Linked DNA regions of Homo sapiens: region 1 is linked to region 2. Evidence: promoter capture Hi-C in 16 types of primary human blood cells and fetal thymus (Javierre and others, 2016). All regions are on one chromosome and are shown on one strand. The core of a region is centred on a gene start or on the middle of the fragment in contact, and the rest is flanking DNA. Distances in the headings are between cores, read along the strand shown. Region 1 overlaps STK10 (serine/threonine kinase 10). Region 2 holds the start of UBTD2 (ubiquitin domain containing 2).

Region 1 (6,937 bases), core at 1,788-4,287, 150 kb before region 2:
CCTGGACTGGAAGCAGAGCTCCAAACCCTCAGGTCATTCATTCATTCATCATACACCTACTCCACACTGACAGGCTGCAGGCCCCGGGAGAACAACCAGGTCTAGGCCCTCAAGGGGCTCCCAGCCTAGTGGAGGGGCAGAAAGGACGATTACAGTAGAAAGGTCCTTCCTGACCTCGTGATCCACCCGCTGCACTCCAGCCTGGGCAATAGAGCAATAGAGGGAGACTCCGTCTCAAAAAAAAAAAAAAAAAAAAAAAAGAAAGGTTCTTCCAGCCCTGGTTCACTCCCATTCTCACTCTTTCTGGCCCACTCCGGGCTCTTTGCATAGATGCTTTTTCTTTTCTTTCTTCTTTCCTTTTTTTTTTTTTTTTTAGACAGACTCTCGCTCTTGTCACCCAGGCTAGCGTGCAATGGCACAATCTTGGCTCCATCTCTGGGGTTCAAGTGATTCTCCTGCCTCAGCCTCCTGAGTAGCTGGGATTAAAGGCACCTGCCACCACACCTGGCTAATGTTTGTGTTTTTAGTAGAGATGGGGTTTCACCATGTTGGCCAGGCTGGTCTCAAACATCTGACCTCAGGTGATCCACCCGCCCTGGCCTCCCAAAGTGCTGGGATTACAGGCGTGAGCCACCCTGCCTGACCTCTTTTTTCTTAAAGTAGGGCTACAGGTGGTTGAGGAAGAGGGATGGCGTCACAAACTTCAGGACAGGCAGAATCACCTCTTAGCTTCCAGCTCCTGGCCCCTGCTTGTTGTGAAGTTCCTTCAACCCAGCTCAGCAGAGGCCCTGGAGAGTGGGGCAGTCAAGAAGACCCACGCTGTCTCTAAACAGGAAAGAAACTCTCAACCATGGTCTAGCTGGACCAGAGACAGCTCTCCAGCCAGAGGAGGGTGGAGCAGCCTCAGGAATTTGATGAAGCCTCCAGTTTGTGGCTTACCTTCCAGGAGCCTCCTGGCAATGTAAATATGACCCTGAGGTCATGTGGGTCCTATGAGGATGTGGTGATGCGTGGCTTTGGAGCCAGTCACGGCTGGGCTCATGGCCCAGGTCCACCGCTCACTAGTGTGGCCTTGGACAGGTCACTTCCGTCCTCTGAGACTGTGTCCTCAGCTGTAAAATGGGGCTGCTGATGCTGTTGCTCTGAACTGGGACCCCATGGCTGGGCTACACTAGGGGTATAAGCCGGGCTGGGATGCACGAAACCACAGCAGATAAAACAGGGGACTTTAACGTGGGCCAGGGATACTAGAGATACTAGGTTCCAGGGGTAGCAACCATTCCAGGCCCTGCCAGGCTTGCCACTTGCCTTGGAGGGCTGTGTGCCACGGCAGAGAGCTGTGGAAGGCGGCACGGCCCACTTCCACACCACTCCCTGCTGAGGAGGAAGGAGGCCTTCTGGGTCACTCTGGTCCTGCCTGGTCATCAACAACGGGCCTGACCTCAGCTTCCCCAAGACTTCTCTCTAACACTACAGTGACCTGTCACCCTTGAATAAAAGTCATCAGAAATGGATCCATGCATGCTGATCCCGAACGCCAAGGAAGAGGTACTTCCTCCATCCACTTGTTCATTCATTCATTCGTCCATTCATTTGTTCCCTCTTACCCAACCACCACCTAACCAGCTTGTTCCCAGTGGCAAGGGAACAGACAGAGGTGACTTGGAAACAGGCAATGACCTTTTGAAGCACAGCATATCATTCTGCCTTGTAGTAATTCTCAGCTCCACGAAAGAGGAAGAAAAATTCTACTAACTGCTAGAAAAAAAACAAGCCACAAGAGGTGATGATGGAAAAGAAGCAAAACTCAGTGACCATGCAAGGCCACTTACTAGCTGGGCGACCTGTGAGATGGGGATGATACACCCTAACCCTCATGGGAATGATAAGCTCATCCAGGCCTTGACACGTGCCTGGCCCCAGGTCGGGACTCAGTTATGTGAGCTGTCACTATGATTCTTTCCTTGAGTTCATGGGTCTGTTTTTCTCATTTATTTTTGTTTGGGTTTTTTGAGGCTCTGTGAAAGCCATCCTCTCCCCTCTCACCCAGAAATGTTCCTGTGCCATTCTATTGAATCCTTCCACATCCTGAAGTTCCATCACCAAACCCTGGCTGGGAACCCCTGGTTAGCCTCCCTAACACCTACCATCTGTATGGCCTTGGACAACCGCCAATCCTCTCCGTAAAATGGGCTAATATTACGTGGCTCTAGGATTTACTGTAAGGAACAGATGAGGTGGTACTTATAAAGACCTAGTCCTAGGCTGGGGGCAGTGACTCACTCTTGTAATCCCAGCATATTGGGAAGATGAGGCAGGCAGATCACCTGAGGTCAGGAGTTCGAGACCAGCCTGGCCAAAATGGCAAAACCCCGTCTCCACTAAAAATACAAAAAGTAGCCAGGTGTGGTGGCGGGCACCTGTAATCCCAGCTACTTGGGAGGCGGAGGCAGGAGAATCACTTGAACCCAGGAGGCGGAGGCTGCAGTGAGCGGAGATCACACCACAGCATTCCAGTCTGGGTGACAGAGCAAGACTCTGTCTCCAAAAAAAAAAAAAACCGAAAAACCCAGTCCTAATACACCGTGGATATGTAACAAGGTCAGACACTTCCCGCTTCTCCAACAAGGTGCCAACACAGAGGAAAAGATTGTAAACCTGGGGTCGAGTCCTGGTGTGCCACTTAATTGACTACATGACCCTGGATAAGTCAATCTCCCTGAGCCTCCATTTCCCCATCTGTAAAATGGCCTAATCATCTCTTGCCTCCAACTTCATTGAGAAAGTTAAATGAGATTCCTTACATGAAAGAACAGCACAAAAGCCACACAGTTAATATGTGTTTGTTAAATCTCTACCAAATGAAATCACCAGTAAGTTTCATGCTTAGATCACGTCACTTAGGATTCCTACAAAAATATGCCTTCCTCTCAGTCTGATTCCTAGGGAAAACAAAACAAAACAAAGAAATGTCTTCCCAGAACTACAATTTCTTTATGTATTTATTTATTTTTGAGAACTAAAAGTTATGGACATGCCATCAGCTGTTTTTTTTTTTTTTTTTTTTTGACAGAGTCTCACTCTGTTGCCCAGGCTGGAGTGCAGTGGCGCGATCTTGGCTCACTGCAAGCTCCGCCTCCCAGGTTCACGCCATTCTCCTGCCTCAGCCTCCCGAGTAGCTGGGACTACAGGCGCCCGCCACCACATCCGGCTAATTTTTTGTATTTTTTGGTAGAGGCAGGGTTTCACCGTGTTAGCCAGGATGGTCTCGATCTCCTGACCTCGCGATCTGCCTGCCTCAGCCTCCCAAAGTGCTGGGATTACAGGCGTGAGCCCCCGCGCCTGGCCTGTCATCAGCTATTCTTAAGAGTCAGTATGAGAAGTGACCAAACCCAGGCAGTTCCTGCATCTTTCAGTGAAACTGTCCCTTACACAACACTCTTATACAACGTCCCTGTGCCCTCTCCAGAGGTCAGCACCAGGAAAGCTCGTGCATTCTGACAACCTGGCTTGCTTCCTCTTCTTTAGTTCAAGAGCTCCACAACCCCTTGAGCTTCCCTTTTATTTATTTATTTTTTTGCCTTGGCTGCTGGGAAGCTCTGGGTTAAGTTCCTCAGCTTTGGTTTGACTCCCAGGCCTTACTTGCTTTTTTTAGTATCTGGGTCTTAACATTTTTACCTTCAGCTTATCAGTGGCAGGAGGGCTACAGGGGATTGGTATTATAAACTTGTCAGGGCTTTTTGCAGAAATACATGGGGTTTAATTAATAAAACAATAGTCTCAACAGTAACAGATAAAATAATAGTTGAATGTATCTCCCAAAAGGCATGTGTTGGAAACTTAATCCCCAATGTAACAGTGTTGGGAGGTGGGACCAACAGTAATGGGAGGTGTTTAGACCATGAGGGCTCCACCCTCATGAATGAATTAGTGCTGATTATAAAAGGGCTAGAGGCTGTGAGTTCAGTTGCTGGCTCTCTCCTGCATGCCCTCTTGCTCTTTCCACCTTCCACGATGGCAAGAAGGCCCTCGCCAGATGCAGGGCCCTCAACCTTGGACTTCCCAGCCTCCAGAGCCATGAGCTAGATAAATTTCTATTGTTTACAAATTACCCAGTGTCAGGTATTCTGTTATAGCAGCATAAAATGCACTGAGACGATGGTAATAAATATGAATAAAATAATAATCTCAATGCTTTAGGAAATTACTACATATGCATGCTTAGAAAAAAGACTGGAAGCACAAAACCCATAGGAGGATTACAGGTAGTTTGTACTTTTATGTATTATATTCAATAAATATGTATTATCAAATTGTATATTAGAAATAAACATGACTTTTAAATTTTTAATTTTTTTAATTTTTTTAATTCAACCTAGGGGCTTTAGTTTTTTTTTAATGGAAAGAACTGGCCTAGAATAACCTACTGCTACAGATACAGCTATTCTTCTGATTGGGATGGGGAATCCGTGCCCACCCGTGATGAAGGTCCCAGTGGTCCAGTCCCCTGCTTCCTGGATAAAGGGAGGCTCCTCAGGATCGGAAAGCTAAAGGCCTCTAAGCCCTGATCAAGTCCAAAGTGAAACCGCCCCAGTGCTAAAAGGACGGATTCCCTGAACCTGTCAAGGGCATAAGCAGCCTATATTTGCAGGTGGCTCACGGTTTTCCTAGGACCTGAAGAACTGAGATTTGTGGTCAGTTTAATGCATTGATCATTATAAACTGAGTGTCTACCAGGGGCCCTACTTTGCTAGGCAACAGTAGGGGACACAAAAGTAGTATGTGATCAACAAACACTATCTGAGCTCCTAGTGCGTGGCAAGCCTGGGGACTGAGGACCCAGGGAGAATCAAACAGGTCCCTGCCCCAAAATCACCAGCTGAGGGAGATATAGAAATGAGTGGTGCAGGCACACGGTGACTATGTAACCCAGAAGCCTGTGGACACGGTCATTAACCTGCCTTAGAGCTATCCCAGAGGAAGCAGATATCCAGGCTGAGTTTTGAAGGGTGAATTTACCACGTGGGGAAGGGTAAAGGCACTCCTGGCAGAACACAGAAGCAGAGGTGGGGCAGCAGGGAAAAGCGTGGAAGCGGGTAATGGCGGAGCATTCCATGGGGTTCCAAAGGATGGGAATCCAGCAGGCTGGAGGTCAATTAGAACTAGAACTTGAACATCTCAAAGTATGAACCTAATCTGGAGAGCTGTGTGTGCGTGTGTGCGTGTGTGTCTGGGGAGATACACCAAAGGGTTTAAGCAAGAGGTGTTGTAGACAGGCTTTTGCTTTGGAAAGATCCCTCTAGATGCATTATTAAGGAAAAAACAGTGGGTTGGGGACAAACAGCGAAGAGGCCATTTCATGAGTCCTGATGTCCTGGGCACCATGGCTACCTCCCCCTCCACATACACCATGTCTTCCTTCCCCTTTGTGAAATAGCCATGAGAACTGGGTAGGACTTACTCATCCCCTGCAAGGGAGGGGTAGAAGCAGGGTGCTAAGCCAGTCAGGAAAATTTTCTGCCTCGTGCCCTGACTCAGGGCTGGTGTCATCAGAGCTAAGCTGGTGAGTTGTGCTTGATGGTGTGGAATGCCACGTCGTCTCACTCTGGAGCTAATTAGGAAGCACACAACTCTGATGGTTGCAGGAAACCATGTTGCAACCACGAGAGAAGTGGGTGTGAAGACAAAGCTAATACACAGAGGAAGACAGAGAGAATCACAGGAAAACGGAGAACAAGCCTGCTCCCTACTGACTTTTTAGGCAGAATATGCAAACGAATTAATTTCTGCGCTGTTTAGTAGGTTAGTTTAAGGTTTGCTGTCACTTGTTACCAAAAGTACCTGATCCCACGCTTGGCAGGAGATGATGAGTAACCACACTCTCCAGGTGGCAGACTCCAGGTTGTACCAGCTGAAAATGCTACACCAACGGCTCTCCAACTTGAACGTTCAGCAGAGTGCTTGTTAAAACAGATCACTGGGTCCCACTCCAGAGCTTCTGATTCAGTGGGTCTGAAGCAAGGTCCAAGAATCTGGTTTCCAACAAGTGCTCAGATGCTGCTGCTGTTGCTGGACCCCTGGTCACACTTTGAGAACTACTGCTCAATGGGAATTTATAAGAGCAAGAGGCCTGGACCCTGGGACCACATCTGTCCTCCCCTTAACAAAAGGCACTGTAAGATGTTGGTAGAGAAACTTGGGGGCAAACTGGCAGAAGTACTGCCTCTTTTATGCTCCTTGTTATCCTAAATTTCATCACCAGTGTTCCTTTTTATCTTGCCTCAAACCAAAGAGTGAGGGGCTTTGGTAGGATGTATGATCATCCTCATCAGCCTTTACCAAGAGATGGTTTGAGAAGCCCTGAGTATTCACACAGAAGCTTTGGGGATCTTCATTATTAAAGACCGTACTGCAGTCTGTTTCAATGAGTTTTTTAAAAAAATATTTCCATATCCTCCCATCTTTAAATAAAAATTTTGAGGACCTCTAAATATGTGTCAAAGGGTATATGGGGGTTAGTAAAAGACCAGATGGACAAAAATGACACCAAAAGCACAAGCAACCAAAGAAAAAATAGATACCCTGGACTTCATCAACATTGAACATATTTGTGCATCAAAGGACAGTATCAAGAAAGTAAAGGCTGGGTACAATGGCTCACGCCTGTAATCTCAGCATTCTGGGAGGCTGAGATGGGAGGATCACTTGAGCCCAGGAGTTTGAGACCAGCCTGGGCAACATAGGGAGACCTCATATTTACAAAAAAAAAAAAAAGGAAAAAAATTTTCATTAGCGGGGTATGGTGGCACACACCTGTGGTCCCAGATACTTGGGGGGCTGAGGTGGAAGGATCATTTGAGCTTGGGAGGTCGAGAATGCAGCGTGCAATAATTGTGACACTGCACGCCAGCCTGGGAGAAAGAACAAGACTTTATCT
Region 2 (7,482 bases), core at 2,783-5,282:
ATAAAGGATTTAATTCCTTAGCAAATGTCATGGCTAAAGGCTTGTCTAGAGGTCCTAAATGCCAACTCCAGCATCACAATGTCATTCTAGTACGGCGGAGAACCATACAGAATGTCTGAAAATGTCAAAACAGGCTGGGCGAGGTGGCTCACGTGAAGTCAGGAGTTCAAGACCAGCCTGACCAACACGGTGAAACCCCATCTCCACTAAAAATATGAAATTAGCCAGGCACGGTGGCGCACGCCGGTAATGCCAGCTACTTGGGAGGCTGAGGCAGGAGAACTGCTTGAACCCGGGAGGGCGGAGTTTGCAGTGAGCTGAGATCGTGCCATTGCATTCCAGCCTGGGCAACAAGAGTGAAACGACGTCTCAAAAAAAAAAAAGTCAAAACAATGGGAAATTCTAGGAGCATGGAAGCTTAGAACTGTTAAATAATCTTACATAACTTCTATGACATACCTGTCTTGATTAAAAGTAGGCATTAAAAAAAAAAGGCTGGGCACAGTCGCTCACACCTGTAATCCCAACACTTTGGGAAGCACAGGTGGGCGGATTACTTAAAGGTCAGGAGTTCAAGACCAGCCAGGCCAACCTGGTGAAACCCCGTCTCTACTAAAAATACCAACAAATTAGCTGGGCATGGTGGTGGGCACCCGTAATCCCAGCTACTCTGGAGGCTAAGGTAGGAGAATCTCTTGAACCTGGGAGGCAGAGGCTGCAGTGAGCAGAGATCGTGCCACTGTACCGCAGCCTGGGCGACAGAGCAAGACTCCATCTCAAAAAAAAAAAAAAAAAAAACCAGCCTAACTACTCATGTGGCTGAGGCCAGAGGACTGCCTGAGCCCAAGAGTTCAAGGCTGCAGTAATCTATGATCATGCCACAGTACTTCAGCCTGGGTGACAGAGCAAGATACTATCTCAATAACAAAATATAAAAATAAAAGTTTTTTTATTTGAAAAAAGCCTAAGTAGCTGGAGCTCAAGAACTAAATTCTAGGCAAGGTATATGCCAAAGGAAAATACAACAATTAATCCCAAAACAATAGATAATGCAAAGCTTATAATGTGAATTAAGCCACTTCCATATTCTACAGTCTCTTATAAAAATCTCCCAAATTCCTTCAAAGAATACACCTAATAAGGAAGGTTTTATTGATATACACATAATTACTTGCATACATAAGAGATGGATTCAGAGGGAAAAAGGAAAGTATAGTATTTCAAATGGTCAAAAGATTTTTTTAAAATCTTTTTCTTACTAAGGCTGGCTGATATTTAGAAAGGGTCAAGCTATTCTAAAATGGTGATGTTTGCACAACACTGTGAATGTAATTATTTTGTTTATTTTTTTAAAGACAGAGTCTCACTATGTTGCCTGGGCTGGTCTCCAACTCCTGGGGCTCAAGCAATCCTCTCGCCTCATCATCCCAAAGTGCTGGGATTACAGGCATGAGCCACCCCGCCTGGTTGGTGAATGTAATTAAATCTGTCATGGAAAGTTTAAATCCGTTGTAAGAAGCATGTGAAGACTCCATGTTGATAAAACAACTTTCATAACCCAACACATTCAGATTAAAAACACGGCAAAACCCACCTCTACTAAAAATTTTTTAAAAATTAGCCGGGTGCGGTGGCATGCACCTCGTGGTCCCAGTTACTTGGGAGGCTGAGGTAGAAGGATCACTTGTACCTGGGAGGTCAAGGCTGCAGTGAGCTGTGATCTGGCACTGCACTCCAGCTTGGGCGATAAAGCAAGAACCTGTCTCGAGAAACCAAACCAAGCCCTCCACACATCCCCCAAACCTAACTCACTACCACAGTATGTTTGAAAAGCTAGGGATCTGTGCCAACACCCTTAGGAAAAAGTCTTTCCCTTCCCAACAATCTACTTATTAAGCAATAATTTTTTTTATATGTTAACCTGCAACACACCTGAGTTAATTTCACTAAACCACAATTAACTCTTAATTATCATGACAATAATGGAGAATAAAAGCGTCCATAATCAAATTCCAGAAATAATCCTTTTAGTACAAGAGCCTCTTCCCTGACCCCAGTTACATCAGGGCCCATGTCCTCTCTCCAAAAGAAAATAAAGACGTTTGGTGGTTAATGTTCCTTTTTCTAAACTTCATGTACAGCAGAGCTTACGGTCCAGAGAACTCAGTCCTCAAAGAAACTGATACTATAGCTATCTAACTGGATACCACCGGTAATAAATTACCCAAAGCTAAGATTTCACGCTTTTTAAAGCCCATATTAATAATGCCTGTCTGGTCATAAGTCACACTACCAAAAGGCTTAAATAAATTAATCCACATACATTACGGAGAAGAGCAAAATGCTTATGACAATATTAAAATGAGTGTGAAAAAAATTTAATTAAAACTAAACACTAGCGATAACAAATACTAATATATTTCAGAATCATTAATGATCAACACAATTAGAGGAAGATTCATTTTGATCCTTCAATTTCACCTTAACCCAAGGCTGTTTTAAATCGTGCCCTTTTTATCTTCCTGCTTTGTTGTCACTGAGGATCTCAATATGCCAGTAATAATGCTACGACATAAAATACACTATAAAGTAGCATTTTCATGGACTTTTTCAAGACAACTTCCACTGAGTTCTCAAGTTATTTACCCAGGATTTAGTCATACAGGATACCCACAGATTTTAATAAAGTGGCATGGCTAACCATCATGGAATTCAGGAAATCCATTAGCCAAAAAACTTAGGTGTACATGGTTTGTGAAGAGAGCTTAAGTGACAGGGCAAGCAACTGGTCTAAATGTTAGTATGCTACGAAAAAGTTGTAAACCCTCCCATACCCAAACAATTTAAAAATTTACAGACATGCACATTTTAAGGCAGCTAACATTAGGTCACAAATCAAACCAACGCTGTCATCTTTGCCTAAAGGCTGTTTATCACTAAAATATTCTACAGAATGGACGTAACCAAAGGTCACTTAAATAAAGATAGAACTAATTTTATTATTATACTGCCATACTACAACTACTACTGATTGAATTAAAATACCTATCCTCAGCACGCTTTTACTATAAAGTAGGAGTGCGTTCCCGTGTTAGAAAACTTTTAAAGTACTGATCTTACTGGGTGGGGTAAGTCAGGGTCCAACTGCACTTGTACTTTTATCCTACATATTTTCCTTCTACGTAAGACAGATGGGAATGTGATTAGCCCACCCCGACAGCACACCGGCCTAACACCCCCAAGCTCTAGCTAGGAGCCACGTTTTACCCGGGAAGACCGTTTCCCCACCCCTCCTTAATACAATGCCTGCGGCCACTGGAGACTCCTCCAGCCGAGCTCCAGAAACTCGCAGGTTTAAATGGCCAATCTGGAACCAACCGGGGCAGCTGTCATCTGAAACTCAGGAAAGCTGAGACCAGCCAACTCCACAGAACAAGGAAGGGTGCGGAAAGATGTGGCGGGGCCCGTCGGAGGGAACGCATCAAGCTCCCTCCCCCCGCCATCAATTCGCTTTTCTGCAACCCCGGCGCCGCCATCCTGATCCTCAATAATTAAACGGCCTGGAGAGGGAGTGAGGTGGCCAGAAGGGCAGCTTCGGGTCCGACTTCCCCGAGCCGAGCGGGGCGGTCGGCGAGGCCAAGGGCTACGTCCCCGGCGCTCAGAGGACTTTTCTTCAGGGCTGGGGCGGGAAGGGGCGACCCCCGCGGCTGGCAGGACAGCCGGAAGCGGAGCGCGGGGAATGACGTGGAAGAGGGGATGACAAAGGGGCGCGGGGGCCCGGCGCGGCCCGCGGGGGTCGGGACAGGTGGCCGGGCCTGGCCGGGAACAATGGGGGGCCGAGGCTGCCCCCTGGCGCTCACCTACCTCCGGTGCCCTCCGAGTTCTCGTTGAGGCTGCCCGAGGAGTCGTGCTGGGCGCCCACACACCCGCCCATGGGGGCCCCCGGCGCCTCGTCCGCCACCTCCGGACGCTCGTCCGGGCCCGCCGCCGCCGCCGCTGCAGCCTCCTCCGGCGCCACCGCCGAGCTCCGGACAGGCGCGCCGCTCCGCTCGCCCGCCGCGGCCCAGCCTCCGCCCCCCTCGCCGCTCCACCCACCGCCTTGGCTCGGCCCCTTCCTCCGCGCCCACTTCTACCTCAACCCCCGGGCCGCCCGCCCGGCAGGCCTGGCCCGCGCGCCGCCCTCGCCTTCGGCTCAGCCCCGCCAGGCCAGGGCTGGCCCATCCCGGGCGGGCCGCAGCGCCCGCCTCGCCCCCTCACAGCCCCGCACACCCGAGTCCAGGCGAGCCCCGCGCCGGCGCCTCGCGTCCGCCAGGACCCATCGGCCCCCGGCCCGCGGCGCCGCCCTCCGCACCCACGGCCTGGGCTCGGCCCGGCCCGCCCGGAATCGCCGGAGAAGGGCGGGGCCACCGGAGGCCGCGCTCTGATTGGCTGCGGGCGGGGCTGCGAGCGGAGCGGGGCGAGGGTGAGGCGGGGGAGGGGACGCAGGGGGCTAGGTGGGGGGAGGACTGCAGGCGGGGGGAGGACTGGAGGCGAGGGGAGGAGGAGAGAGGGAGGACGGGAAGAAGAAAGGAGAGGGAAGAAGGGAGGGAAAGCAGGAAAAAGCCGAACAAAAGTGAGAAAAGAGGAGTGGGAAGGGGCGAAATCGAGTTCCTGGCTCCTCGGCCGTCGGCTCCTTCTTGCTGGTGGAAGCGGGTCGCACGGGGGAACCGAGAAGTAGTCGTGGAAGACTCGCAGGCGGGGACGGGGCGGTTTCCCAAATAACGGGGGCTCGGGGGAGAGTGTCCTGGCCGAACGTTGAGGTCCCAGCGCCCTTTGAATTTGTATGGCGCTCCGTGGGTTGGTACCCCGAATCTGGGCTTCCTCTTGCCTGCCCACCCCCGTCTTCCCTAAAATCATGGGGCCCCATTATTAGGGGTGGAGGCAGTGGTTGTGGCAAACCAAACTGAGATTAGAGGCGAGGCGTCCTGATGGAACGCCTGGAAAGAAGAGATAAACGCTGACCTTAGTTCAGGGGGCGTGGGTTTCTTTCATTTTCACGGGATTAATGATTCAAACAATACTACTTATCAAGATCCTGCCTTTGGGTATCTTAAATCGTCCTTAGGCCAAAGTGAAGTGTAAATGAGTGAAACACCCTGCCTTTTCGAATCTAGAATTTGGGACATTGACCACGCCCAACATTCTTGGCGGTTACTTTTCCAATCTCAGCCAAATTGTTAATGGTCCCTTTAGAATTGTGCTTCGTGCTATGATGCCTTAAAATTGTTATCATCCTGCTTGGGACTTTCTAAAGCTTATTTCTGCCTAAGAAGCTGTTTTAACTATCTGCTCCATTTTTATATCAGACTTTCTTTTTTTAACATCCTGGGTCAGCTTTTGCTTAGCACGAAAAAAAATTTTTTAAGTTGAAATACCTAAGAAAGAGATGCTCTGCAGCTTGGGATTTGCATTTAAATATATTCTCATACATTGCTGGTGGGAGTGTAAATTGGTTCAATCTTTTTTGCAAAGCAATTTGGCAATGCAGATCAAGAGCCTTAAAAATGTTCATATCCTTTGACTCGGGATTATTCCACATCTGGAAATCTAGCTCACAGAAATAGATCAAGCTATTATACAAAGATTTAGATCTCTGTATTCATTTGATAAAAAGACAGTAGACAAGCAAAACCTACACTTAGGTTAAAACACAGAAATGTCGTGAGATATAGAAATCTGCTATATTAAACTCATCCTGAAGAATTAGTATTGTCCTCAGTTGTGGTCCTGAACATTCCAAAAAGAGCTTATGCCATCGATGTTATTATGAGTTTTCAGAGGTTGCTCTGACATCAGGGGCTGTGTCACAAAGCCTTCTGTCTGATCATTTTCAACTAACTATACACGTTGGCAGACACATCACTTCATCACTTCCCTGAAGAAGAGAAGCTGCATGCCGAATATTTGCAAAGAGATTGCTTTGTCCTGAATTTCACTCTAGAAATTGCAGAAACCAAGACTTCCACGATGTCTATTAAACAGATGGTAGGCACCCAAATGATGAGGGCTCTCCGATGAGCACTGAGGAGTTGGCACTAGGAAGAGAGAGCAATCTCGGGGAGAGATTCTCAGCAATAGATGTTCTCCACCCTGCCTTTATCTTAGAGACACATTTCCCAGGAGGCAGAGTAGTGTCGCAGTCAGGGCCCCAGCTTGGCGATTAACTTCCTGGATTGGAATCTGGCTTTCATCGTGTACTAGCTATATGGTCTGAAGTTTCTGCCAGACATGGTGGCTCACGCCTGTGATCCCAGCACCTTGGGAGGCTGAGGTGGGAAGCTCACTTGAGCCCAGCTGTTTCAGACCAGCCTGAGCAACATAGGGAGACCCTGTCTCTACGAAAAAATTTTAAAAATTAGCGGGGCGTGGTGGTGAGCGCCTGTAGTCCCAGCTACTCAGGGGGCTGAGGTGGGAGAATTACCTGAATCCAGAGAGGTGGAGGCTACAGTAAGCTGTGATCGCGCCACTGCACTCCAGTGTGGGTGACAGAGCGAGACCCTGTCTCAAAAAAAGAAAAAAGAAAGTTTGGCCGGGCACGGTGGTTCATGCCTGTAATCCTAGCACTCTGGGAGGCCGAGGCGGGCGGATCACGAGGTCAGGAGTTGGAGGCCAGCCTGGCCAATATGGTGAAATCCCATCTCTATTAAAAATACAAAAATTAGGCTGGGCGTGGTGCCTCATGCCTGTAATCCCAGCATTTTGGGAGGCTGAGGCAGGCGGATCACAAGGTCAGGAGATCGAGACCATCCTGGCTAACATGGTGAAACCCCGTCTCTACTAAAAATACAAAAAATTAGCCGGGCGTGGTGGCAGGCGCCTGTAGTCCCAGCTACTCAGGAGGCTGAGGCAGGAGAATGGCGTGAACCCGGAAGGCGGAGCTTGTAGTGAGCAGAGATCGCGCCACTGCACTCCAGCCTGGGCAACAGAGCGAGACTCCATCTCAAAAAAAAAAAAAAAAAAAAAAAAATTAGCCAGGCGTGGTGGCTCGCACCTGTAGTCCCAGCTACTTGGGAGTTTGAGGCAGAAGAATAGCTTGAACCCGGAGGGCGGAGGTTGTAGTGAGCTGAGATCTTGCCACTGCACTCCAACCTGGGCGATAGAGTGAGACTCCATCTAAAAAAAAAAAAAAAAAAAAGTTTATGTGGAGTTCAGTTTCCTCACCTGTAAAATTGGGCCAAAAATAATGCTCCAAACTCTGTGGGGCTTTTCATCAACTCTTTATTTCATGTCTAGCATCATCTATCTAAATTTACTGCAGGCAGGCACAGTGGCTTCGGCCTATAATCCCAACACTTTGGGAGGCTGAGGCGGGCAGACCGCCTGTGGTCAGGAGTTTGAGACCAGGTTGACCAACGTGGTGAAACCCCGTTTCTACTAAAAATTCAAAAATTAGCTGGGCATGGTGGCGTGTGCCTGTAATCCCAGCTACTCGGAAGGCTGAGG

Evidence for each region. Contacts are between HindIII fragments. The CHiCAGO score rates a contact against its expected background, and 5 or more counts as called.
Region 1: a contact is called between a fragment that was not itself captured here and the fragment with the promoter of UBTD2 in region 2, in 1 of 17 cell types (activated CD4 T cells). The highest score is 6.6, in activated CD4 T cells.

What each region holds. Positions count from the first base shown.
Region 1 is chr5:172,127,986-172,134,922 of GRCh38, forward strand. All of the region lies in intron 2 of STK10 (serine/threonine kinase 10), which reads right to left. Among named protein-coding and RNA genes, the nearest start is that of STK10, 57 kb to the right of the region's middle. The HindIII fragment of the contact is 6,680 bases long and covers 1-6,377 here.
Region 2 is chr5:172,279,732-172,287,213 of GRCh38, forward strand. It overlaps UBTD2 (ubiquitin domain containing 2), which reads right to left and starts at 4,033. Exons shown (of 3, transcript NM_152277.3): 1 at 3,865-4,033. The coding sequence starts at 3,934. LOC100288254 (a long non-coding RNA gene) reads left to right here and starts at 5,866. Exons shown (of 2, transcript NR_130933.1): 1 at 5,866-6,024. RefSeq lists a silencer at 3,626-4,535 and enhancers at 4,110-4,710, 4,711-5,310. The HindIII fragment of the contact is 4,236 bases long and covers 1,056-5,291 here.